Linked DNA regions of Homo sapiens: regions 1, 3, 4 and 5 are each linked to region 2. The links are contacts of gene promoters, found by promoter capture Hi-C in blood cells and fetal thymus (Javierre and others, 2016). All regions are on one chromosome and are shown on one strand. Each heading gives the region's core, a stretch centred on a gene start or on the middle of the fragment in contact. The rest is flanking DNA. Distances are from core to core; before and after follow the strand shown.

Evidence for each region. The method cuts DNA at HindIII sites, captures the fragments that hold promoters and counts their contacts. A CHiCAGO score of 5 or more calls a contact.
Region 1: a fragment that was not itself captured here is called in contact with the fragment with the promoter of A2ML1-AS1 in region 2 in 1 of 17 cell types (M2 macrophages); the score reaches 5.6 in M2 macrophages.
Region 3: a contact is called between a fragment that was not itself captured here and the fragment with the promoter of A2ML1-AS1 in region 2, in 1 of 17 cell types (endothelial precursors). The highest score is 6.1, in endothelial precursors.
Region 4: a contact is called between a fragment that was not itself captured here and the fragment with the promoter of A2ML1-AS1 in region 2, in 2 of 17 cell types (endothelial precursors and naive B cells). The highest score is 6.5, in endothelial precursors.
Region 5: a fragment that was not itself captured here is called in contact with the fragment with the promoter of A2ML1-AS1 in region 2 in 4 of 17 cell types (M0 macrophages, activated CD4 T cells, megakaryocytes and 1 more); the score reaches 7.4 in M0 macrophages.

Annotation. Positions count from the first base shown.
Region 1 is chr12:9,032,249-9,037,700 of GRCh38, reverse strand. It overlaps a transcript of KLRG1 not described here and the pseudogene VDAC2P2. Among named protein-coding and RNA genes, the nearest start is that of LINC00612, 30 kb to the left of the region's middle. The HindIII fragment of the contact is 5,098 bases long and covers 1,164-5,452 here.
Region 2 is chr12:8,828,632-8,834,213 of GRCh38, reverse strand. It overlaps A2ML1-AS1 (A2ML1 antisense RNA 1), which reads left to right and starts at 2,908. Exons shown (of 2, transcript NR_046715.1): 1 at 2,908-3,552. A2ML1 (alpha-2-macroglobulin like 1) reads right to left here. Exons shown (of 36, transcript NM_144670.6): 4 at 4,435-4,487. RefSeq lists enhancers at 1,386-2,129, 5,102-5,582. The HindIII fragment of the contact is 3,703 bases long and covers 1-3,687 here.
Region 3 is chr12:8,616,083-8,621,163 of GRCh38, reverse strand. No RefSeq gene overlaps it. Among named protein-coding and RNA genes, the nearest start is that of AICDA, 5.8 kb to the right of the region's middle. The HindIII fragment of the contact is 193 bases long and covers 2,638-2,830 here.
Region 4 is chr12:8,633,264-8,638,676 of GRCh38, reverse strand. It overlaps the pseudogene HADHAP2. Among named protein-coding and RNA genes, the nearest start is that of AICDA, 23 kb to the right of the region's middle. RefSeq lists enhancers at 1-518, 2,135-2,944. The HindIII fragment of the contact is 4,984 bases long and covers 1,628-5,413 here.
Region 5 is chr12:9,054,189-9,059,470 of GRCh38, reverse strand. LINC00612 (long intergenic non-protein coding RNA 612) reads left to right here. Exons shown (of 3, transcript NR_034140.1): 2 at 595-1,851; 3 at 3,733-3,882. It also overlaps a transcript of KLRG1 not described here. Among named protein-coding and RNA genes, the nearest start is that of LINC00612, 8.2 kb to the left of the region's middle. The HindIII fragment of the contact is 2,225 bases long and covers 1,083-3,307 here.

The sequences.
Region 1 (5,452 bases), core at 2,463-4,962, 200 kb before region 2:
AAAATGGTACACCTCGATAGGGCTCTTACCACGAATGGGGTTTGCAGGACTGGAAGTTGCTCTGGGTGAGTCAGTGAGTGGTGAGTGAATGTGAAAGCCTAGGACATTATTGTACATTACTGTAGACTTTATACACACTGTATACTCAAGCTATAGTAAATTCATTTTAAAAAATTTTTTTCATAAAGTTTATTTCATGATTGGTGGGTAGTGCATTTAACAGTTAAATATACTTAAATAATGTGTAGGTGACTGCACGGTTGCAGCATATTGGTAACTAGATACATAACCAATTCAACTAGAAACCAGCTAACGAGTAGCTGTTTAAATATTTAAAATATAGCTCTTGTTTAGAGCCTTTGTTTTGATCACCTTCTTTGTGGGAAGAGCCTGCTGATCACAATGAAAGTATATTAAAGCCAAATCTTCTGATATCCATTGCCATTTCTTTCAGCTGGATTAAGTCTCCAACTCCAGGACAAACCCAAGTCTTTGGCCTCCTCCATTAATGCACTTTTTATCTAGCAGAGCAGAAAGTGCAAGCTTCACAGCAGGCTCAGAGTCTGAGTGTAAATGAAGTCTCTTTCCTTCCACTCCAATTAAACTAGAGTTGTTGACTTTTGCAAACATAGAAGCAGTGAAATGCAACTGATATTTAGTGGCAAGACAAAATGAGTGCAGTTGGCACTTGATGTCCGAGCAAGGTTTACTGAAGTATCAAGATTGTCACATACCCTCTGATAAACTGAGCCTCCAAATTCTGCCCCATTATTGTTATTAGTGTGAAGCTCGAAGTCCCCCATCCGGTAGCCCACTACAGTTATTCCTTGTCAGCTTTGACTTGGCACTGTCAGTGGTCATCTGGTACCCAGCAAGCCAGCCCTCGTAACCAAAGACAGCTGAAGCATAGATTGCAGGTCCAGCAAAATCAAAATTAACATCACAAGCAAGGTTTATGCAGTCCCTCTTGCAAGAGGACTTGATTTTACCACTTTTGTTTCCTGTGATTGCTAAGAAGGTAGTATCAAATATTAGTTTCAAACCTTGACAAAGGTGGTCCAATTGTGATTTCTGTTCCCAGAGTATTAACAGTGTCTCATTTTTCTGGGAAAGTCACACCATACTCACACCGTTTATATTTGGTCTCCAAGACTTCAAAAGCTTTTCCAGTGTCTGCATTAAATGAACCAGATGTTGAAAATCCCACAGCACTGCGTGACTTTGTTCTCACATCCAGTTTTACCAACCCCAAACCAAATCCTTTGTTAAAAATATCTCTGGCAGCTTTGCCAAGGTTAACATATGATGAAGAAATCCACACTGGCCACATGCAGGTCTGCCCATAGGTCGCCATGGTAAGGCCACAGTAAGAGGTGATATGGTGATCTCCTAAGGAGGGCCACGGCCACCACTCCACTCTCAGCTGAGGCTGGTCAGCCGCCTCACAGTCAGGCCACAGCTGCCGTGAAGTGAAATCTCTTTCTTCAATAATAAATTAACCTTAGCTTCTTCTAATTTTTTTACTTAATAAACTTTTTCCTTTTTGTGTTAACTTTTATTTTAGGTTCAGTGGGTACATGTGCAGGTTTGTTACATGGGTAAATTGCATGTCACTGGGTTGGGTGTACAAATGATTTCGTTACCCAGGTATGAGCACAGTACCCAATAGACAGTTTTTCCATCCTCACTCTCTCCCAATCTCCACTCTCAAGTAGCCCTCAGTGTCTTTTGTTCCACTCTGCCTCCCTGCATACTAAATGTTTACCTCCTACTTATAAGTGAGAACATGTGGTATTTGGTTGTCTGTTCCTACATTGGTTCACTTAGGATAATGGCCTCCAGCTCCATCCATGTTGCTGCAAAGAATATGATTTTATTTTTTATGGCTGTGTAGTATTTCATGGTGTAGATGTACCACATTTTCTTTATCCAGTCCACTGTTGATGGGCATCTAGGTTGATTCCATGTCTCTGCCATTGTGAATAGTGCTGCAAGGAACATGCACGTGCATGTGCCTTTTTGGTAGAACAATTTATATTCCTTTGGGTATATACTCAGTGATGAGATTGCTGAGTTGAATGGTAGTTCTGTCTTTTTTTTTTTTTTTTACTTTAAGTTCTGGAGTACACGTGCAGAACGTGCAGTTTTGTTACATAGGTATACATGTGCCATGGTTGTTTGCTGCACCCATCAACCCGTCACCTGCATTAGGTATTTCTCCTAATGCTATCCCTCCCCCTAGCTCCCTACCCCCTGACAGGCCCTGGTGTGTGATGTTCCCCTCCCTGTGTCCATGTGTTCTCATTGTTCGACTCCCACTTATGAGTGAGAACATGTGGTGTTTGGTTTTCTGTTATTGTGATGGTTTGCTGAGAATGATGGTTTCCAGCTTCATCCATGTCCCTGCAAAGGACATGAACTCATCCTTTTTTATGGCTGTATAGTATTCCATGGTGTATATGTGCCACATTTTCTTTATCCAGTCTATCATCGATGGACATTTGGGTTGGTTCCAAGGTAGTTCTGTCTTAAGTTCTTCGAGAAATCTCCAAACTACACTTTTTTGTATGAACGCACAGCTTACCACACAAATGTATTGTACAGCTATACAAAAATATTTTCTTTCTTTATATCCTTATTATATAAGTTTTTTTCTATTTAATTTTTTTTTTACTTTTTAAATAGCTTTGTTAAAAACTAAGACACAAAAACATACATTAGCCAAGGCCTACACAGGGTCAGGATCATCAATATCACTGTTCTACTTCCTTATCTTGTCCCACTGGGAGTTCTTCAGGGGCAGTAACACGCATGAAGCTGTCCTCTCCTGTGATAACAATGCCTTGTTCTGGAAAACCTCCTGAAGGGCCTGCCCAAGACCGTTTTACAATTAACAAATTTTTTAATGGATAAGTATAAAGAATGTACTCTAAAATAACAGTAAAAAGTATAATGGCCAGGCACGGTGCCTCACGCCTGTAATCCCAACACTTTGGGAGGCCGAGGCGGGCGGATCATCTGTGGTCAGGAGTTTGAGACCAGCCTGGCCAACATGATGAAACCCGTCTCTACTAAAAATACAAAAAATTAGCCGGGCATGGTGGCGCATGCCTGTAAATCCCAGCTACTCGGGAGGCTGTGGCGGAAGAATCGCTGGAACCGGGGAGGCGGAGGTTGCAGCGAGCCGAGATCACACCATTGCACTCCAGCCTGGGTGACAAGAGTGAAACTCCATCTCAAAAGAAAAAAAAAAAGTATGGTATATTAAGTACATAAATCAATAACAGAGGCACATATTATCATCAGGTATTATGTATCATACATAACCGTATGTGCTATGGTTTTTACATGACTGGCAGTGAAGTAGGTTCATTTACACCAGCATCACCACGAACACGTGAGTAATGAGTAATGTGTTGTGCTGTGATGTTATGACAGCTATGATGTCCCTAGAGATAGGATGTCACTAGGAATTTTTCAGCTTCGCTATAATCTTATGGATATAATTACGGCATATGTGTGATCTATTGTTAACCGAAACATCATTATGCTGTGCATGACTGTATGTATCTCTTCTACTGGTTCTGCTTCTGTGGTTGAAACCTGACTGATACAATACACAAATACCAATTGTCTCTCATGGGGTTCTTCAATGGATTTTTAGGAGATCCTACACAGAGATACATCCCTGAGGAATTTCTGCACTGCATCATTCCCTGATACAGGTGAGATGCTCTCTGGGAGGCCTCCTGTGACTTTACCTTAGCTCTCAACTTCTAGTGAAGCATCCAACATGGCTTCTTTCTTGTAGGATCTCCCACCGATAGGGAGTCCTCTTGGATAAAGCCCTTTGTAGAGGACGCAAACCCACATCTGCTACTTCTGGGATGAGGGGAGCTCATATACCCACTCACCAAATAGTGAAGCTGAGCCTTGAAGCCACCCCACCTTACCCTGTCATCAGGAGCAACTTCTGCTAACTTCTCACCACTGGGCCTCTCTAAACAATAGTCACACAAAAGTGTCTTTGTCCTCTTCAGTAAGGGACATAGGTCAGGTTCTTCCAAACACTTTTTTATTCTCCATGCTGTCTCAAATTTACAAGCTCCCATAGCTGAGCAAGCATAGAGCCAAGGAGTAAGACTCTGTCTGCCTTCAGCAAGCAGTGCCCAATTTCCCCAAAGTGCCCTCTTGTTTCCCCTCTCACTTGGAATCAGGGTGGGAGGGGAAATACCCCAGTAATCCCCTTTTTTTTTTTTAAAGAGTCTCATTCTGTCACCCTAGCTGGAGTGCAGTGGTATGATTGTAGCCCATTGTAGCCTCTATCACCCAGGCTCAAGTGATCCTCTCACCTCAGCCTCCCTAGTAGCTGGGACTACAGATATAAACCACCTTGCCCAGCTAATTCTTTTATTTTTTTATTTTTGTTAGAGATGATGACTTTCTACGTTCCCCAGGCCAGTCTTGAACTCCTAAGCTCAAGCGATCTTCCCTCCTTGGCCTCCCAAAGTGCTGTGGTTACAAATGTAAGCCACTACACCCAGACCCCAGCAATCTTTTGATTCACAAATTCTTTCAAGGAATTTGTCTCTGCAATCATGTAATCACCGGCAGTTTCTTCCTGCCCTCTGCACAGGCAAAATCAATTCACTGAGACTACGGCATAGCAGTAAAGAAAGAGTTTGATTGACAGGAGGCTAACTCATGTAGTAGAACCAGAAATATCACTCAAATCAGTCTCCCTGAAGGCTCAAAGTTTTGGGGGTTTTAAAGGATAGTTGGTGGTCAGAGGGCTAGAGAATGGGGAATATTGATTGATTGGGGTAAAATCATAGGAGTGTGGAAAATAGTCTTCATGCACTGAATTGGCCTCTGGGTAGGGCTACAGGACTGATTGACTCATGAGTTGCAGGTCTGGCCCGAGTCAGCTGGTCATGAGAAACGTTAACAGTCTGAAAAAAATCTCAAAAGGCCAATCTTGGGTTCTATAACAGTTGATGTCATCTACAGGAGTAATTGGGGAAGTTACAAATCTTGTGACCTCCAGAACAATGGCTGGTTATCGTTTCACTTTGCCTACATTTTAGCAGAATTCAGGCCCCTCTCATAATTCCTAATCCTAACCTGTGGCCTTTCATTAGTTTTACAGAGGTGGTTTAGTTTTAGGAGAGGGCTATTATCATCTTTGCTCTAAGGTTAAAGTATAAATTAAGTGCCTCCTGAAGTTAGTTTGGCCTACACTGAGGAATCACCGAAGACATCTTGTAGCTTAGAAGCAAAATGGAGTCAACTATGTCAGTTTTCTCTTACTGTCATAATTTCGCAAAGGTGGTTTCAATCAGTCTCTATCTTTTCCTGATATGGGCTGTTGGTAATTGTCCTTAGACCAGTTTGGAAAGTCCTGTAGGGTAAGCTAAGAACTCTCTTTGGAATATAGGATTTCTTAACACCT
Region 2 (5,582 bases), core at 1,659-4,158:
AAATAATTATTTTTAAAATTGTTTGAAATAGTTCCATTGGAGAATCATGTATCACTTTCCTCAAGACAGTAGTTGCTAAATAGATGTGAAACCATTAAGTTTGTGAGGAACAGGTCATTGTGCTTGCAACTAGATGAGATTGAAAGCTGGAATTCAGTGAATAGCAGGAGAGGGGCTCAGAGAGACTGCAAAGGTATTCAAAAGAGAAGACCAGTTTGGATCTAACTTGGAAAGAAGAAAATGAAATCAAGACAGTCCTTGATTTTTTTATTCTTGGGCCAAGTGTCATGTGATGCCAACCAGTGAAGAAGCTGAACCACTAAATACAAATATCAGCCTTGATAGTAGGGATAATGGCAATTCTTCAAAAAAAGCAAAAAATAAGGAGATCTAAGGATCACGATGAGCTAGGACTTCCACAAACCTGGGCTATATAAACATCAGGAGGAGAATATCACTAAGATTGCTATAAATTTCCATAAAGTCAAAACAAAACAAAACAAACAAACACTTCTTTAGGCCAGACACGGTGGCTCACACCTGTAATCCCAGCACTTTGGGAGGCTGTGGCGGTTGGATCACCTGAGGTTAGGAGTTCAAGACCAGCCTGGCCAACATGGTGAAACCCCTCTCTACTAAAAATACAAAAATTAGCCGGACATGGTGGCACATGCCTGTAACCCCAGCTACTCCGGAGGCTGAGGCAGAAGAATCACTTGAACCCGGACAGTGGAGGTTGCTTGAGCCGGGATCATGCCACTGCACTCCAGCCTGGGTGACAAAGTAACTCAAAAACAAAATACAAAACAACAACAACAAAAAACACTTCGATAACAAAGTACTTTTCTCACACAGGGATCAAGAATCAGGAAAGACATCAGTTGGCCAGAAATAGGCTCTGGAAGAAAATAAGTGTTTCACTAGGAAAGTAGCATTGCTGAGGCCAGGCATGGTGGCTCACGCCCATAATCCCAGCACTTTGGGAGGCTGAGGTGGGCAGATCACCTGAGGTCAGGAGTTTGAGACCAGCCTGACCGACATGGTAAAACCACATTTCTACTAAAAATACAAAATTAGCCAGATGTGGTGGTACATTCCTGTAAACCCAACTACTTGGGAGGCTGAGGCGGGAGAATCCTTTGAACCCAGGAGGGGGAGGTTGCAGTGAGCTGAGATCCCGCTACTGCACTCCAACCTGGGCAACGCAGCGAAACTCCGTCTCAAAAAAAAAAAAGGAAAGTAGCATTTCCGACTGGAAGTTGCCTGGAGTTTCTGAATAACTGAGTATAGCAATCAAGTTAGACAGGGTCAGTTAATATCAGGCTTACTTTACTTGTTTGGGGATTAAATATTGTGCTGTGTAAATGAAACTGACTTTGCAAAATTAAAACTGAGGAAACGATGACAGTGAAAGAAATCAGACCTAACCAACGCTATCTTGCTTCTAAGCAGTTCCACTCCTCTCACCTTAGGTACCCTCACTACGCCCCCTCTCAGCAGGAAGAAGCCAGAACAATCGACAGCCTTTTCCCATCTTCCTAGCCCACACCTGAAGATTAAGGTGTTATAAAACCCAAAGGGAGGGACTGAAGCCGCCTTTGCAAAATTATAACTGAGGAAACTATGAAAGTGAAAGATGTCAGACCTAACCGACTCCATCTTGCTTCTAACTTGTAAGCTGTCCTTGTGGATTCCTGGGTGTAAGCCAGACTAACTTTGGGAAGGAATTCAGTTCATGGTTTGACTCTGAAACAAAATTGATAACAGCCCTTTCCCAAAAAGACCCCCTTCTTGCCCGGGGACCAGTCTGCCTTTGCAGGACTAACAAATTAGCTACAAGATTAGAAATTACACTTTAGGGGTCATGCAGCCTCTGACTCCAAGAGTCTGAACCTCTTCAAATTGCTCCTGGGGAGAACATCACTGTTGTAAAACCCAAGATCAGCGCCTGAGATGTTCTGCAGACCCTGCATTCAGTGGATCAGCTGACACCACCCAGACCAGTAATCTGGCTCAACCAGTTCTGCCATCCCACCCAGGAGGAGGAAAACAGCAAGAAAACCTCACTTTGACCATCTATGACTCCATCTCCAACCTGACCAATCAGCACTCCCCACTTCCCAAGCCCCTACCTGCCAAATTATCTTTAAAAACTCGATTTCCTGGCCAGGCGCGGTGGCTCACGCCTGTAATCCCAGCACTTTGGGAGGCCGAGGCGGGCGGATCACTTGAGGTCGGGAGTTCAAGAACAGCCTGACCAACATGAAGAAACCCCGTCTCTACTAAAAGTACCAAAATTAGCCGGGCGTGTTGGCGCATGCCTGTAATCCCAGCTACTTGGGAGGCTGAGGCAGGAGAATCACTTGAACCTGGGAGGCAGAGGTTGCGGCGAGCCGAGATCGCGCCATTGCACTCCAGCCTGGGCAACAAGAATGAAACTCCGTCTCAAAAAAAAACAAAAACAAAAACAAAAAAAAACTCGATTTCCAAATGCTCAGGGAGACTGATTTGAGTAACAGTAAAACTCCAGTCTCCCACACAGCCGGCTCTGGGTGAGTTACTCTTTCTTCATTGCAATTCCCCTGTCTCGATAAATCAACCCTGTCTAAGCAGCAGGCAAGGTGAACCCATTGGGTGGTTACATAAACACAATTTTTATCCTAGCTTTCTTGGTAAAATTCCTTTTGTTAATCTCAGTGTTTCAACTGAATTTGGAGGGAGAGTTTGGCTGGAGAAATAGAGTGGGGAGGAAGGAGTAATTTCACAAGAGAAAGAGCCTAACTGCAGAAAACAGAACACCTGGAAGTAATCCCGCTTCATTTGAATCGTAACAGGGGTAGTTAATGAGATCAACCCTGAGGGTAAGTGAGTCTAAAATAGTGCTGCTGCGGGCCACGCTTTGAACCCAGCACTTCCTTGTTGCAGCTCTAGAGAAAACAGTCTGTTAAGAAGTAAGCACTCAGGCCGGGTGCAGTGGCTCAGGCCTATAATCCCAACACTTTGGGAGACCAAAGCGAGAGAGGCCAGGAGCTCAAGACCGGCCTGCGCAACAAGGTGAGACCCCCGCCCCCCACAACTCTACAAAAAAATAAAATAATTAGCCAGGTGTGGTAGTGCACACCTGTGGTCCCAGCTACTGGGGAGACTGAGATGGGAAGATTACTTGAGCCCGGGGCAGGGTCAAAGCTGCAGTGAGCCATGACTGCCACTGCACTCCAGCCTAGGTGACAGAATGAGACCTTGTCTTAAAATGTTAAAAAAAAAAAAAAAAAGTAAGAAGTACTCAACGTTATACCTACCAAAGAAAAGCCATAGGTGATGGGAAGGAGGAAGTAAAAGGAAATCTATATTGGGAAAGAGAGTAGCGGGTAGGGCATTACCAATCATAACAAGCTAATAACTCCCCTGCACATAGGGAAAGGAAACAGCAGCTCTGAGAACACGGAGATGGAAAATGGAAATCATGCTTTCTCTATGTTTATCTCTAAAAGTTTCATTTGAATACACAGGCTGGGACAGACGGAAGAGGAAGAAAGCAGGGGTGTCCGGGAGGTAAGTGTCTCAGAAGCATGTAGAAATGACACATGCTCCAACTTGAAATCAAACCTGTGGTAAGGCTTATGATTCTAGGGATGGGGAGTCCAAGGAAAAATCAAATATTCGCAAAATGTTGCTACATTTTAAGCTTTGGCATGTATTTATTTAATGTTGCCCTAAGAGAATTACCTACTTTGTAAATTATTTTGCCTCATAGAAACAGAGTGGAAGCGGACATTCTCCTTTCTGCCTTAAAAAAAAAAATGCTTTTGTCAGTCCTGAAGAAAAGGTCTTGAAGTTTGCGAAAACTCTTAAAATGAAAGGGGGCTGAGCATGGTGGCTCTTGTCTGTAATCCCAGCACTTTGGGAGGCCGAGGTGGGTGGAACACTTGAGGTCAGGAGTTTGAGACCAGCTTGGCCAACATGATGTAACCCTGTTTTTACTAAAAATACAAAAATTAGCCAGGCGTGATGGTGCGCGCCTGTAATTCCAACTATTTGGGAGGCCGAGGCAGGAGAATTGCTTAAACCCAGGAGGCAGAGGTTGTAGTGAGCTGAGGTCACGCCATTGCACTCCAGCCTGGGCCACAGAGCGAGACTCTGTCTCTAAATAAACAAATAAATAAAATAAAATGACAAGGAGCATAACCATCTCTCAAGAACCTGATGAATGTGTAGATACTGAAGCTGAGAACTGGTTACCTCTGCTTGTTCCTAGGCTGATTTAGGCTAGCTCCCTGAAGCTCGCCCAGCACTTCCAGTCCCACGCACACAGCAGTCTCCAACCCAGAGGGCCTCGCCTTGCCACGCCCAGGCTGAGAGGACTTCCACCCTAGAGAATCTCTCATCCTTTTCCCTGTTCTCCCTGCGCCACTCCTTCTCCTCCTCCCAACTCACCTTGTCATTCACTGGAACGAAGTTGCTATCCATGGTGACAATGCGGAAATACACTGGAAAGGAACAGGCATCATTAGCAAAGGGGATGTTTCCTGGCTCAGAATTTTTTTTTTTTTTTTTTTTTTGATACAGGGTCTCACTCTGTCACCCAGGTTGGAGTGCAGTGGCACAACCGTGGCTCACTTCAGCCTCAAACTCCTGGGCTCAAGTGATTCTCCCACCCCAGCCTCCGGAGTAGCTGGGACCACAGGCAGGTGCCACCACACTTGGCTAATTTTTGTAGAGACAGGGTTTCACCATGTTGGCCAGGCTGGTCTATGAACTCCTGACCTCAGGTGATCCACCTGCCTTGGCCTCCCAAAGTGCTGGGATTATAGGCGTGAGCCACCGCGCTCCGCCTCCTGCTCAGAATCTTTCCTCTATCCCTCCTCCTTCCTCACACATGCTCTGAGTCAGCAAAACCCCAACAGGTTTTACTTTTTTACAAAACCTGCTCTGAGAGTAAGGTAAAGTCCAAACACAGGCCTGGAGCTCAGGAGGCAGAGCAAGAGGCAGAATAGAAGCCTCCATTGACCACCCTCCTCATCCCCCACAGTAACACCAAACTGAACAACTGCCCACGCAAAACAGCACTGTCATAAGAACCAAAAATCAGAAGAGTGATCACAGTGCCTGGTTTTAACTTTATATCACTGAAAGAGGCACTGAAGAGGGTAGAAAAGACACACTTGAATTGCTGATTCACCCCCTCCCCGCCATCCCCCAGCAGTGACTGTGGTACAGAGACAGAATCGATGAGCTTGAGGGCGGGAGAGCACAGTGACTGTGGGACTTGGCTTTAGAATGCAATGCTGCCCAATCACAGGGGAAAGCACACAGGGCAGAACTCAGCCAGTGCCCATGGAGGGAGCATTTAGACCAGCGTTAGCCAGGGGTGAACTGCCCATCCCAGCGGTTGGAAGCTGAGTTCCGATTAGCCCCTGGGGCTCTAAATACTCAGCAGTGATAGCTGGGCAGTACTTGTCGTGGGCCTTGGGTGAGACTCAGAGACATGCTGGCTTCCAGTGATTCAGCACATTCCCAGCTGTGGTGACTATGGGGAGAGACTCCTTCTACTTGAGAAAAGGAGAGGGAAGAGTCAAGGGGAC
Region 3 (5,081 bases), core at 1,485-3,984, 210 kb after region 2:
AAGTTTATACTAAATAAAGGGACATAGAGATTAAATGATTAAACACAATTCCCATCAAAATTCCATTTTTCAAAGAAATAAACAATTCTAAAATTTGTGTGGAACAAAAGACCCTGAATACACAAATCAATCTTGAGAAAGAAGGACAAAGTTACAGGCATACTTTCTGATTTCAAATTATAGCACAAAACTATGGTAGTCAAAACTGTATGGTACTGGCATAAAAACAGACATGTAGACTAAGAGAATAGAAAACTCCCTAATAAACTCCAGCATACAAAGTCAACTAATTTTCTTTGTGTGTGTGTGTGTGTGTATGTGTTTGAGACAGAGTCTCTGTTGCCCGGCCTGGAGTGCAGTGGCATGATCTCAGCTCACTGCAACCTCCACCTCCCAGGTTCAGTGATTCTCCTGCCTCAGCCTCCCAAGTAGCTGGTATTACAGGCATGAGCCACCACACCTGACTAATTTTTGTATTTTTAGTAGAGACAGGGTTTCACCATGTTGGCCAAGCTGGTCTTGAACTCCTGACCTCAAGTGATCCACCCACCTCGGCCTCCCAAAGTGTTGGAAATACAGACGTGAGCCACCACACCCCACAAGTCAACTAATTTTCAACAGGGGTACCAAGAATACACAGTAGGGAAAGGATAGTCTCTTCAATAAATTGTGTTAGGAAAACTGGATATCCACATGCAAAAGAATGAAATTGGACCCTTATCTTACACCATACACAAAAATCAACTAAAATGGATTAAGGACTTAAATAAGGCCTGAAACCGTAAAACTACTAGAAGAAAATGGGAGTGGGAATGGGCAGCTTCTTGACGTTGGCCTTGGCAATGATGTTTTTGGCTATGACACCGAAAGAATAGGCAATAAAAGCATAAATAAAAAGTGGGACTAAATCAAACTGAAAAGCTTCTACACAGCAAAGAAAACAATCATCAACATGAAAAGGCAACCTATAGGTTAGAAGAAAATATTTGCTAATCATATATCTGATGAAGGGGTTAATGTCCGGCCAGGTGCAGTGGCTAATGCCATATAATCCCAGAACTTTGGGAAGCTGAGGCAGGAGGATCACTTGAGCCAAGGAGTTTAAGGTCAGCCTGGGCAACAAAGTGAGGCCTCTATTCCTACAAAAAAAGTATAAAAATCATCTGGGCATGGTGGCTTGTGTCTGTAGTCCCAGCTACTCGGGAGGCTGAGGCAGGAGGATTGTTTGAGCCTGGGAGGTCAAGGCTGCAGTGAGCTGTGATTGCATCACTGGACTCCAGCCTGGGTGACAGAGCGAGACCCTGTTTCAAAAAGGAAAAAAAGGTAGACAGGGGTTTAATATCCAAAATATATAAGGAATTCATACAACTTAGTACCAAAAAAAAATGTCAACCTAAAATAATCAAAAGGGTCAGAATCTAATTTAAATAAAGTTTATTCAAGGACAAAGTTTGAAGACAGTCCATTCAGAAACACCAACTCTAAGGAAATGGAGTCAGTGTTCTGAACTAGGGAAGTTAAAGTATCATTTATATAGGCAGAGACACAGGAGTTTATGCACACTTACAGCATTTTTCATACAAGGTTGGTGCATAGTTATAACAATTTGATTGATTATAGGCAGTGTTTCTTTTTGGGAAGGGTACATATAGCATCTTTTGCAGATGTTGTAATAGTCATATGTTTTCTGTCATCTGGTCTAGGCAAAGCAAGACGACAAAGGAGAAGTTAATCTATGATAAGGGTCATTAATTAACAAGGCAGGAGGTTTTTGTCCTTGAGGTCATTTAATTTTCTCTAGTTACTGTACAGGACAAGAAAAATAAGGAAGTGGGTTAGTCTATAACTTGAGAAGCAGATGTTGCAACCATATGTGACTCAGATCACAGTCACATCTCTCTCAAGGCTTACAGTGTTTCTGGGGTTCCAACAGCTTTTTAAAATTTTTTTGAGATGGAGTTTCACTCTTGTCGCCCAGGCTGGAGTATAATGGTGTGATCTCAGCATACTGCAACCTCCGCCTCCTGGGTTCAAGCAATTCTGCCGCAGCCTCTCGAGTAACTGGGATTACAGGTATGCGCCACCACACCCAGCTAATTTTTGTATGTTTAGTAGAGATGAGGTTTCACCATGTTGGCCAGGCTGGTCTCGAACTCCTGACCTCAAGTGATCTGCCCACCTCAGCCTCCCAAAGTGCTGAGATTATAGGCGTGAGCCACCGCGCCTGGTCCACGAACAGCTTTTAAATCATATTTATTCTCACATAAATAACCCAATTAAAAATGGACAGAGGACCTGAATAGACATTTCTCAAAAGAAGACATACAATTGTCCAACAAGTGTATGAAAATGTGCTTAACACGGTAATCATGAGGGAAATACAAATCAAAATCACAGTGAGATATCATCTCTGTGAAATAATAAGAATAATATATATTTGGTCTCTGCCCCTGGTTCCTGGCACAGATTTCCTAAAGCCCTGAGAATTTCCTGAGTGATAAGAGCATCTGACACAGAGCTTTCGAATAGCTTGGAATTTCTGGATGACAGGAGTTTGTTTTGTTCTAATGAGATGACTCCTGGTAGGCTCTAGGAGAGGTGCCAGTCCCCAGAAAGACCAAGTCATGACTAGAAGCTTGGAATTTTCAGCCCCACTCCCCATTCTCCCGAGAGACGAGAGGGGCTGGGAATAGAGTAAATAATTAATCGTGCCTACATGATCAAGTCTCCATAAAAATCCCTGAAGTATGGAGTTCAAAGAGCTTCTGAGTTGGTAAATATATCTGTGTAGCAGGAGGGTGGCACACCCCAACTCCAGGGGACAGAAGCTTCTGTGCTCAGACCCCTCCCGTTCTTACCCTCTGTACTTTCATCGAGCTGTTCATACGTAACTTTTTTTTTTTTTGAGACAGAATCTCGCTCTGTCACCCAGGCTGGAGTGCAGTGGTGCGATCTCAGCTACTGCAACCTCTGCCTCCTGAGTTCAAGCGATTCTCATGCTTCAGCATCCTGAGTAGCTGGGACTATAGGTGTGAGCCACCATGCCCAACTAATTTTTGTGTTTTTTTAGTAGAGATGGAAGTTTCATCATGCTGGCCAGACTGGTCTCAAACTCCTGGCCCGAAGTGATCTGCCCACCTTGGCCTTCCGGAGTGCTGGGATTACAGGCATGCACCACCACACCTGGCTTGTATGCTTTATTATATCCTTTATTAGCATAATAAACTGCTAAAAGTTAAGTAAGTGTTTCCCCGAGTTTGCTAAGCCAGCTTAGCAAATTAATGGAACCCAAGGCATGGGTTGTAGGAACCCCTAAGCCAGTTGATCAGAAGTACAGGTCACAACCTGAAATTTGAGATTGGCATCTGAAGTGGGGTCCATCTTGTGGGACTGACCCACAATCTGTGAGGTCTGATGCTATCTCCAGGTAGATAATGCCAGAATTGAATTAAATTATAGAACACCCAGTTGATGTCCACTGGAAAACTGCTTGGTGTATGGGAAAAGACCGGCACACATCTGGTGTCAGAAGGGCTGTGTTGAGTGGTATGTGAAGGTGGAAGAAAAAATAGTCAGTTCTTCCTATTATATGCTTTCTTTTTCTTTTTTTTTTTTTTTAAGACGGAGTCTCACTCTGTCTCCCAGGCTGGAGTGCAGTGGCACGATCTCTGCTCACTGCAACCTCCACCTCCCGGGTTCAAGCAATTCTCCTGCCTCAGCCTCCCGAGTAGCTGGGATTACAGTTGCCTGCCACCACAACTGGCTTATTTTTGTATTTTTTTTTTTCAGTAGAGACGGGGTTTCACCATGTTGGCCAGGCTGATCTCGAACTCCTGACCTCAGGTGATCTGCCTGCCTCGGCCTTCCAAAGTGCTGGGATTACAGATGTGAGCCACCACACCTGGCCCCTATTATTGGGTTTGCATTTTACATTTTTATTTTTTCCTATCTCTTAACCTCACACCTGTTAGAATGGCTATTACCATAAAGACAAAAGAAAACAAGCGTTGGTGAGAATGTGGAGCGAAAGGAACCTTTGTACACTGTTGGTGGGAATGTAAATTGGCACAGCCGTTATAGGGAACAGTATGGAGGTTTCTCCAAAAAAAAAAAACTAAAACTAGAACTACTATATGATCCTCAAAAATTTTAATACAGAACTACCATATTGAGCAATCCTGCTTCTGGGTAAATACCCAAAGAAAACAAAATCAGTGCCTTGAAGAGATAACTCCATGTCCACTGCTGCGCTATTCACAATAGCCAAGATATGGAGACAACCTACGTGTCTGTCGACAGATGAATGGATCAAGAAAATGTGGCACGTATATATATATCAGAATAAGAATATCATTCTGCCTTAAGAAAGGAGATCTTGCCATTTGCAACAACATTGATAAATCTGGAGGACATTATGCTTGGTGAAATAAGCCAGACACAGAAAGAAAAATACTGCATAATCTCACTTATATGTGGAATCTTAAAAAGTTGAACACATAGAAGCAGAAAGTAAAATGGTGAGCCAGCCACAGTGGCTCACGCCTGTAATCTCAGCACTTTGGGAGGCCGAGGTGGGTGGATCACTTGAGGCCAGGAGTTCGAGACCAGCCTGGCCAACATGGTGAAACCCCCGTCTCTACTAAAAATACAAAAATCAGCTGGGCGTGGTGGTGCATGCTTGGAATTCCAGCTAATTGGGAGGCTGAGGCAGGAGAATCCTTTGAACCCAGGAGGCGGAGGTTGCAGTGAGCCGAGATCACACCATTGCACTCCAGCCTGGGCAACAGAGTGAGACTCCGTCTCAAAAAAAAAAAAAAAATAAAATAAGAAAGAAAGAAAGTAAAATGGTGGTTAGCAGGCATGGGGAGGTAGGGAAAATGGGAAGATGTTGCTCAAATGGTACAAAGTTGCAGTTATACAGGATTAATAAGTCTAGAGCTCTATTGTACAGCATGATGACTACAGTTAAAAAAGATTGTATTGGGCCAGGCACAGTGGCTCACACCTGTAATCACAGCACTTTGGCTGAGATGGGAGCATTGTTTGAGCCCAGGAGTTCAAGACCTAACTGAGCAACATAG
Region 4 (5,413 bases), core at 2,870-5,369, 200 kb after region 2:
CTACAATGACATTCATTGTCTTGTTTTCTTTTCAGGTTTTTATCATTTTTGATAATAAAAAATAAAGTAATGCTTTAAATTATACTATAAATTTATCATGCTCCTGTTCAGGGAAGGCATACATCTGCTCACTGCCTTTAGTTCTCCTCTACACATCTGCTGCCTAGTTTTGGCCAAGTGAACTTTCCACTGATATCCTGGGCTCTTTCCTCCCATTCCCATATCTGTTCTTTCTTCTCCTCAGTCCCAGAGCACTTATCATTTCTGCACCCCTTATTTATGGACTTTCTCCTCTGATTGTACAAACTAATAGCATCCCTAAAGAGAGAATAGCCCAGTCATTGCTTGTTTCTTTTTTCTGGCTATTCAGTCCCTAGAAGTCTCTGAGTTTAATCAGTTTTTTTTTTTCTTCTGGGGAAAGAGCTTTAATATCCTGGTACACCATGGTGAGCAGAAGCCCAGGCAAAGCATCTACACAGGCAGGTGTGTGTGGTTTTGAGCCCACCAGGTCCCACTTTGTCTCATCACAGTCCCTCCCTAAGGTGCTGCCTAGAATTCTGCACAAACGTTCTTACTCCCAAAGCACAGGGCTTTCTTCCAGCTTGCTTTTCGAAGGAGGCATTTAAACCAGGACAAAGACAGAAGATAAAGGAACAACCAGGCAGAGAGGCAGAGACGCTGACACAGAGTTCGGTTTTTACTATTATGTGTTTGGCTGGGTGCAGAATTGCCCTCACCACCCCTGGCCACCCTGGCCTCCTGGGAGGAACAGGCAGAGATGGCTCCAGATGGCTCTTGGCTGCCACTCTAGGCCTCAGGGCTTATACAATGAGCACAGCGGGTTCCACCTTCCAATAGGAAGTGCAAACTCTAATTCACAGTCAGACTTCACCAGGAGGGAGAGATGGTCTTGGCTGAAGGCACTTTAATCAGGGAGCAAACCCAGTGCCAGGGTTTGTCTTCCTTCTCGTTACTCTGATAAGTCTAGATGCCACTCTGTTGGAAAACCAGCACTGCCCACAGCTAGGGTTAGTGCACTGACTGAGCGAAGCATGAGACCTGCTCACTGGTACAACTTCTCGTTAGGGCTATTAGCATGGTCAGCTAGCAGCTAGCATGGAGTGAACTGTTTTCCATAGGCAGCCTCATACTTCTTGAGCCGGGCCACTATCTTCTGGGGGCCATACAGAGCCACAAAGCAGAAAGGCCCTCCAAAACAAGGCGGGAAGCCAAGCCCAAAGACAGCTGCGATGTCTCCCTCTGCAGGTGTGGCCAAGATCCCCTCTCGCAGGCACATGACTGCCTCATTCACAAATCTTGTCACCAGGCGGAACTGGATGTCTTCACCTGGGGAGACTTCAGACTTAGGAGGCATCTTTAGACTCACTAAGATACTATCCACATCAGAATTCAAATTCTTACTCTTCACACCCTCCTGATAGATGTAAAAGCCCTTCCCAAACTTGCGACCTAGGAAGCCCTTGGACACCATCTGTGTCAGCAGTTCTGGGTTTCCACCTCCAAACCGCTCCCCAAGGGCTTTGCGCAGATCTTCCGCCATATGTTTCGCTACATCCACGCCAACTTCATCCACCAGTGTGGCGGCACCCACAGGAAAGCCAAAGCTTGTGGTCAGGGAATCCAGCTTCTCCAGGTCAACTCCTTCCTGGAGGATTCGGATGACTTCAGACATCATGGGTGCAAGACACCTGGTGGTATAGAAGCCAGGTCCATCCATAACCACAATGATGACCTTCCCCTGCTTGAGACTGACTGCCACAGCTGAAGCACTGAGTGTCTTTGGAAGTTTTCTCGGTTGTGATCATCTCCAGCAGCTGCATCTTGTCCATGGGAGAGAAGTAGTGCATGCCAATCACCTTCTCAGGTCTTTTGCTGACAGCAGCGATTTCACTGATTGGGAAAGCAGATGTGTTACTGGCAAAGACACAGTGATCTGGAATCACCGCTTCTACTTCCTTTAGCACTCTGTGCTTAAGACTAAGGTCCTCAAACACAGCTTCAATCACCATGTCGACCTTTAAAACGTTGCTAATCAAGCTGCCCAGTTGAAGGGGTGGCCTGCCCCTCCACATCTGTGGGTGTTTCTCGTCGGGTGGGACGAGAGACTGAGAAAAGAAAGAGACACAGAGACAAAGTATAGAGAAAGAAAAGTGGGCCCAGGGGACCGGCGCCGGCACCGGTCTCTGAGTTCCCTCAGCATTTATTGATCATTATCTCTGCCCTCTCGGAGAGGGGAATGTGGCAGGACAATAGGGTAATAGTGGGGAGAGGGTCAGCAGGAAAACATGTGAACAAATGTCTCTGCATCATAAACAAGGTAAAGAAAAAGGTGCTGTGCTTTGATGTGCACATACATAAACATCTCAATGCATTAAAGAGCAGTATTGCTGCCAGCATGTCTCATCTCCAGCCCTAAGGCGGTTTTCTCCTATCTCAGTAGATGGAATATACAATCGGGTTTTACACCGAGACATTCCATTGCCCAGGGATGAGCAGAAGACAGATGCCTTCCTCTTATCTCAACTGCAAAGAGGCTTTCCTCTTTTTCTAATCCTCCTCAGCACAGACCCTTTACGGGTGTCGGGTGTCGGGCTGGGGGACGGTCAGGTCTTTCCCTTCCCACGAGGCCATATTTCAGACTATCACATGGGGAGAAACCTTGGACAATACCTGGCTTTCCTAGGCGGAGGTCCCTGCGGCCTTCCGCAGTGTTTGTGTCCCTGTGTACTTGAGATTAGGGAGTGGTGATGACTCTTAATGAGCATGCTGCCTTCAAGCATTTGTTTAACAAAGCACATCCTGCATAGCCCTAAATCCATTAAACCTTGAGTCGACACAGCACATGTTTCCGCAAGCACAGGGTTGGGGGTAGGGTTACAGATTAACAGCATCTCAAGGCGGAAGAATTTTTCTTAGTACAGAACAAAATGGAGTCTCTTATGTCTTCTTCTTTCCGCATAGACACAGTAACCGTCTGATCTCTCTTTTCCCCACACCCAGTCAAGTTGCTGAAGATGGAATCCCTTACAAATGATGTTAGAGCTTTCTTATTCACTTTATCATTCAATCCTTTGAACACTTGTTGCTGTCCTTGGCCTAGCCTAGTGAGTGTGGCATCTTTAAGTATAGTCTTTAGCCTCTTATCCACAGAGACTTGGGTGATGCCTGCTCCCTTCAGCCCTTCACCAAGAATAGCCAGACGCTTAACATCCTTCTGTGGTGCTCCAAATTTATTCTTCTTGCACAAGACCTGACCATGGTAGAGACCCATCAAGGCCTTTGATTCACTGGTCATTGCAAGCTATCCAAATTTCTGAGATTCAGAGAGATAACCAGCATCAATCCCTCGCTCAATTCCAGTCTTTACCACGTCAATTATTTTCAGAGGTGCAGGATAAAGGCCTTTAGTCTCCTTTTGCACTTTTTCTTCCACTTTTTTGTAAACCTGTTGCCTGACAAATGGAATAGTCATGGTGTACGCTGTCAATTTTTCCACCAATCCCTTGTCTCTCTTTGGAGAGATCTTCTTATCAGCTAGTCCTTTGGCAAAAGTAATTGCAACTGCTTCCAGGTATTCGATTGTCCATTCCTCTGGAGGTTTTATTCCCGGTCCCAGGGGTTCTACCAATTGGTCAACCAGTCCCATTTTCTTTGCGCTATCTGCATGAATGTTTCTACTAGTCAGCATCATGTCAAAAACAGCAGGCACACCCACCATTTTGGGCAGCCTTTGTGTGCCTCCTGCTCCTGGTAAGATCCCCAGCAAGACTTCAGGGGCACCTAATATTGTTTTTCCATCTTTTGTTGCTATTCTGTATTGGCATGAAATGGCAAGCTCAAGCCCTCCTCCCAGGCAGGATCCACTGATGGCAGCTATAACAGGCTTTGCGGCCTTTTCAAGTTTCTCAAATGTTCTCTGTGCTTCTTGTGATACCTGTGTTACTTCTTGAGGGGTCTTGCAAGTGGCTAACATATTGATATCAGCACCTGCAATAAAGCGGCCTGGCTTTGGATGAAATAAGGACAGCATTTCTGATTTGATTAGTAGCCCAGACTTCATTCATAACTTCCGTGAACTCTGAATGCAGCTCTTTACTCAGTGTATTTACCTTTGAAGTGGAAGATTTAATTCGAATAACTGCCACATCCCCTTTGACTCCATAGTTAATATGGGTTCTGGTCAGCAAAGCAGAAGACTCTGTAAAATTGCGGCGTATATAACCTTGGGATCAGAGGATCCTGAAGTCAGAGAAGCGGCTGAGGATGCCAATCGCCCGGTAGGCCACCATGTTGAGCTGAAGAGGACAGCAGTGAAGAGCACTTTAGCAGGGCCGCCTGAGCGGAGGACTTTTCCTCTTAATCAGGATTTTTAAAAATTAAGGTGAAATTGACATAACACACTATTAAGCATTTTAAAGTGTACAATTGAGTGGCGTTTGGTACATACAGACTTGTGTAACTACCACCTCTATTTTCTTTTTCTTTTTCTTTTTCTTTTCTTTTTTTTTTTTTTTGAGACGGAGTCTTGCTCTGTCGCGCAGGCTGGAGGGCAATGGCGAGGTCTCGGCTCACTGCAAGCTCCGCCTCCCGGGTTCACGCCATTCTCCTGCCTCAGCCTCCCGAGTAGCTGGGACCACAGGCGCCCGCCACCACGCCCGGCTAATTTTTTTTTGTATTTTTAGTAGAGACGGGGTTTCACCGTGTTAGCTAGGTTGGTCTCGATCTCCTGACCTCGTGATCTGCCCCGCCTCGGCCTCCCAAAGTGCTGGGATTACAGGCGTGAGCCACCGCGCCCGGCCCAACCACCTCTATTTTCAAAACTTTTTCCTATCCCCAAAAGAAAACCTCATATTCCTTAAGTAGCAACTCCCTAGTCTCCTCTCTAGCCCCTGGGCAACTACCAGTCTGCTTTCTGCCTCTAGGGATTTACCTATCCCGGATATATTTTCATATAAATTAAATACTTCCCTATAAATGAAATCATGCACAATGTGACTTTTCTAGTCTGTCTTAATCAAGATTTTAGGATTATTTGCTCGGAGCGTAAATAACTAATTACAGAGCACATCCAGGAAAATCATCTCAATAGGAGAATTTTGATTTTACTTATTTTTTGCTGTAGCCATACCTCCTTTAGGGAACCTATGGATGGAGGTCTAAAGTAACCCGAATGCATGGAGGTAGGGGCAGGCTGAATAAATTACCCAAAGTGCTGGCATGTACCGAGTTAGTAGTGTTGTTTTCTAACCATACTGAGATGGTTGACTCTCCCTTTCCTCCTCTGGTAACAAAGTGAAAAGGCCCTCATTGATTGGTAATTTTAGCCAATGTGTGGATATGGGCGGGGAGTGTGTGGATCGGTGATGGGTGGGTAAGAAGGGTGAGGGGTTGT
Region 5 (5,282 bases), core at 946-3,445, 230 kb before region 2:
GGATTTTTTTAATCCAATGTAAGAATAAAACAATGGTATCCTAATAATGTCAAAGCAACATTGGTCATAATCTAAGGAAATTGAATTCATATAGTACCAAATATATATTTAGCATTGTGCTAGGTGCTGATACATTCTAGATAAAAATATTACACATGGGTAACCAAAACTGTCAAATGACATTTCAGGGCAAGATATAATTAAGTACCAAAATCATTGGCATAGTCTTTAAGTACTGTGAAATGTAGAGAAAGCTGAGATGAATGGCAGTGTAGAGACAGATGGCTTTGCAAATCATCTCAGATGACTAGCTATCCAATGTGAGGACACTTCTCCCTCACCTTCAAACAAATGCTAAAGACGCCTGTTACTTAATCATATGAATATTCAATCTTGTATCTAATGTGGTGGTATTCATAATACTCTGTATATGTTTTCATCTTACTGGACAAGTGTCTTCGAACTCATTTAAATGAATTTAACCCCAGCTTTGTTTATGTATAGACTTCTTCAATCTCATAGTCTATTTGTCTCTTTGTACCCCACAGGCTTTCTTTATTCAGTAACACTGGTGATTTCTCTTATTTTCCTTAGCTTGAAAGATCTAGCCACGTGAGCAGGACAGAAGTGCACAACAACCATATCTTGATTTCTGTGGACCAGGTGGGGCCCCTGCCAGCCTTGCTAGACAGACCCAGGTGAACAGTCCTTCTAGGGGATCTCATCACCAGGCAAGCACGTGGTACGAGAAGAGCAGTCATTAGGAAGGCCATTTGGAAAAGCACATCCTCTCTGTTCACGTGAGATATTTTACATCCTCATTCCTCATCGCAAGCTTCCTGGGATTTGGAGTGTCACAGACAAGAGGGTTGGGGGAGGCCAGTAGGTATGGATTTGTTTATATTAAAATGAGCATATGAATATTTATATGTTTATATTAAAACATATATGTTTGTTTATATTACAATGAGCATATGAATATTTATATGTTTATATTAAAACATATATGTTTGTTTATATTAAAATGAGCATATGAATATTTCTGTATACTTCAGATAAACATTCTTTTCCATAAATAAGCTTCATCATCCAGAAGCCATGTTGAAAGTTGGTAATCAAGGATAGGAAGTGTTTCCAAGGGTTGTCAGTGATTAAATCAACCTTACCTTAGCATACATGTATGAGAGAAGTTAGATAAATTATACATAGAGAGATAGCTAGATAGATAATAGATAAATAAGGTAGATGACAGATTAGATACAGATGATAAACAGATATGCTATCAGTCTAGATCTATTACTCACAGTCAGTCGTATCACAGTGTAATTCCATCAACTTCATTTGCAGCAAAAGAACAGCCCCTGATGTACGCCTGTTTCCTGAATATTTGGAAATATTAATATTAATATAGATAGAGTCAGCTTGCCAGTATAAAGAATCTATCTCTCACTATAGGCAGAGCCATGTGTTGGATATTATGGAGGAATATGTATTATTTTAATCGTTTAAAAGACTAATAAACTTCTAATCTACTTTTGGGAGCCTCTGCTCAAGTTCCTGAGGTTCCTACTCTAAAATCCACATCACCCTCCAACTGCTCCCTATGTGAGCCATTAGGGAGCACAATGAATTAGAGAATGAATCCTATTAGCCCACTAAAAAATTATCTTTCAAAGGATGAAGACTGATGCTAAGGAAAAAGAGATGAGGCCTCCCTGGTTCCGCATTATTACTCCTTCCTTTCTTGGGTTACGGATTGAACACTGACCTTTTCTTTCACTCTTCTGCAAGACAACCCCATAAGAAAGCTGAAACCTGCTTTTGTGAAAGCCTATGATTACTATAAGACAGGTGAGCAAAACAGAATCCTAGATAAACTCAGTTCTTTCCAGTGTGGTGTCTTTGATGGAAAAATAAAATAAAAGCCAATGTGTTTGGGGTTTTTTTCTTTTTTACTTTATATAGATTTAGGGGGTACAAGTATGGTTTTGTTACATGGCTACATTGCACAGTGGTGAAGTCTGGGCTTTGAGTGTAGCCATCACCCAATTAGAGTACATTGTACCCATTAAGTGATTTCCCATCCCTCTTGCCCTGTCACCCTCCCACCCTTCTGAGTCTCCAGTATCTGTTATCCCACTCTCTATGTCCATGTGTACAAATTATTTAGCTCCCACTTATAAGTGAGAATGTGAAGTATTTGACCTCCTGTTTCTGAGTTATTTCACTTGAGATAGTAGCAACAAGGGTGGAAGTGGAGGCCAAACCTCAATTCTTAAAGCAATAAAAGTGTGGTAAACCCTTGTACATCTTGTTTTCAGTTTAATCTGTCTCCATAACTTATTTTTTCTTCCTTGGCCTACAAAACTACTGCCAAAACTACCTGTAATATACATGTATATTGATATGTAAGCCTATCAGTCGTGCAAAATAATCCAAAGTACCAAGAGTTTTACGTAGAAGTGCTTATAAATAAAGGCATACATAAATCTTAAAAAGATAATATAGCAATGCAAAGAAATAAAGAAGAGCCTAAGAACTATACAAATAATTATAGTAGGAACTAAGAGAGGGGTGAGAACTATAGCGTTGAGTGGTCTTTAAACAGCAAATGAAGAGGCTGGGCACAGTGGCTTATGCCTATAATCCCAGCAGTTTGGGAGGCCATGGCAGAATGATCTCTTAAAGCTAGAAGTTTGAGACCAGCCTGGGCAACTAAGTGAGAGCCCATCTCTACAAAAAATTGAAAAATAAAATCAGCCAGCATGCTGGTACACACCTGTAGTAGTCCCAGCTACTCAGGAGGCTGAGGCAGGACGATCATTGGAACCCAGGAGTTTGAGGCTGCAGTGAGTGAAAGAGTGAGACCCCATCCCTAAAATACACACACACACACACACACACACCCCCCAAGTAAAATTTCAGCTGGAATATAAATCGTGGGTATTATACTGATTTATGGAGAGAATTATGCTAAGTCTTTCAGATGAGGAAAACATATAAGAAATATCATGCAAGAAAAAAGAAGCAAATATGGAACAAGAACTGAAAGAACACATACCCGCGTGATCCCCCCTAGTACTTTGCTTGAACACTGTAGCATGAGCAGGCTTTGATTTTCCACCAGAGTAACGGATTATACTAATGGTATCAAGAGTGGAAATTCCTTGACCATGTCTATATATTTCCCCAGTGAGCTGACATTTTTGTGATCACGCAGGCCCTGATTCAGTATGGTTTGCAGTCCTTAAATAGGTCAAAGCCTCTCCACATAGCCCTGTCCCGTTGAAGCTCCCATTCTCAAGCTTTTCTCCCATTGTGTGTTTCAGATGAAGCAAATTTGCTGAATACAGTGTCCCCTGCAGCCGATAGGCAGTTTGCTCTACATATCCCAAGCCTTCATTTTGCTCTCAAAAGCAGTCCTCCTAAATACAAAATCATCTACATCTTTTATTAGTTGATATCAGATTTATCATACTGCAAGGTAACGCAGAACTATACAGCTTTGGAGAGGAACACTAACTTCCTGGAAGGTTTCCTGATTTTCTTATCAGAAGAGTGTAAATGAAATTACCCTGTGATTAGGGTAGATATCTGATGGATTCCATTCTCAGCCATAACCAGTTTGGTCTCCTTTAGCAAAGCCCTGCTGCTGTCCATATCCAATTAGAATTAAATTCACTCCTTGGCAAGCCCGAAGTCATCCTGTTCGCTTTCCTCTTCTCTCCACAGGCACAGAGCAAGAAAATGTTTGAGGCTTGTGTCTATAAACAAGACTTGGCTGGAATCCCCAGACCCACGACTTTTTAAAAGGATATTTTGTCCCTGCAATACAGATACTGAATGAGGTTGGCAAATAAATATGTATTTCTAGAGACTCTATAATTGATTCCTTCTTCATTTAATGCAAATTTACTCCATGCGCACTTACTGCTTTTCATTGTACCCTGTATTTGCAATAAACAAATAATGGCATCCAAATTGAGGTAAGAGCACCTAGCATAAATTTAGGAACAATTCACAACAGCCTCACTACTGCAGAACCTCAGAATATGCAAAGCAATGTAATGGCAATCTGGGAAAGTTTCACTCCAAGAAAAAACTTCTAAACTGAAGATTAGTGACAAGAGTGTAGAGTATATCTGAGTGGAAACATTTTTTGCAAAAGCAGAAGAAATGGTTTATTTTAGCACCAGGTAAAATGACTGGCCTGTCTAGATAGAAGCTCCGTATTGCAGAAAGGTGAAAATTTATCAATCAATCAATTAATTAATAAGTTATGTTTAGGTGGGAGTCATAATATTACGACAATTTCATGGAATTAGAAATGCTTAACTTCTGGTCCAAAATCTGCCACTGACCATTTGTATGACTTTGGGTTGAAAAACATCTGGATATCAGTTTTATGTGTGTGACAGAATCACGTGTTATTGGAGAAGTATAAATAAGTACAGGTGGCGTATCCCTTATCCAAAATACTTGGGACCAGAAGTGTTTTGAATTTTGAATTTTTTAGATTTGAAATATTTGAAGTATGCTTACCAGTTGAGTATCCCTAATCCAAAAACTGGAAACCCAGAATGTTCCAGTGAGTATTTCCTCCTAGCATCACTTCAGCACTTGAAAAGTTTCAGATTTTGGAACACTTTGGATGTCAGATTTTTGGATTAGAGATGCTCAACCTGTATAGTAGATCCTCTCTTAACACCATTGATAGGTTCTTAGAAACTGCAACTTTAAATGACATGACATAGAACAAAACCAATTTTACCCTAGGCTAATCAATATAACCAAGGAATAAGATCTAGTGTTCAGTAGCAAAATAGAGCAACTATAGTAAACAGTAATTTACTCTCCATTTAAAAATAACTAGAATAGTAGAATTGTGTTAGGAAAGCTCCTAACACAAATAAATAATAAACGTTTAATGTGATGAATATCCCAATTATAAGTGATCATTACACGTTGTATGCTTGTATAAAAATACATGTACCCTATAAATACATGCAACTATTATGTATCCATAAAAATTAAAGATTAAAGAAGTCCATGAACTATTATTTTTCATAAAGAGTCATAGGAAAATTTGCCTTTTTAAAATTTTGCACATAACCTTGGTAATAAAAATTATATTTAAATTTTAAAAATAAAATGAGCTGTTTCTACAGCATATATCTGATCACAGAAACATCACCAAACTTCTAAATGAAGACCCAAAACATTTCTAATATTGAACATTGAAATAAACATGATAAATAAATAAAAACAAGGCGACTCCCCAA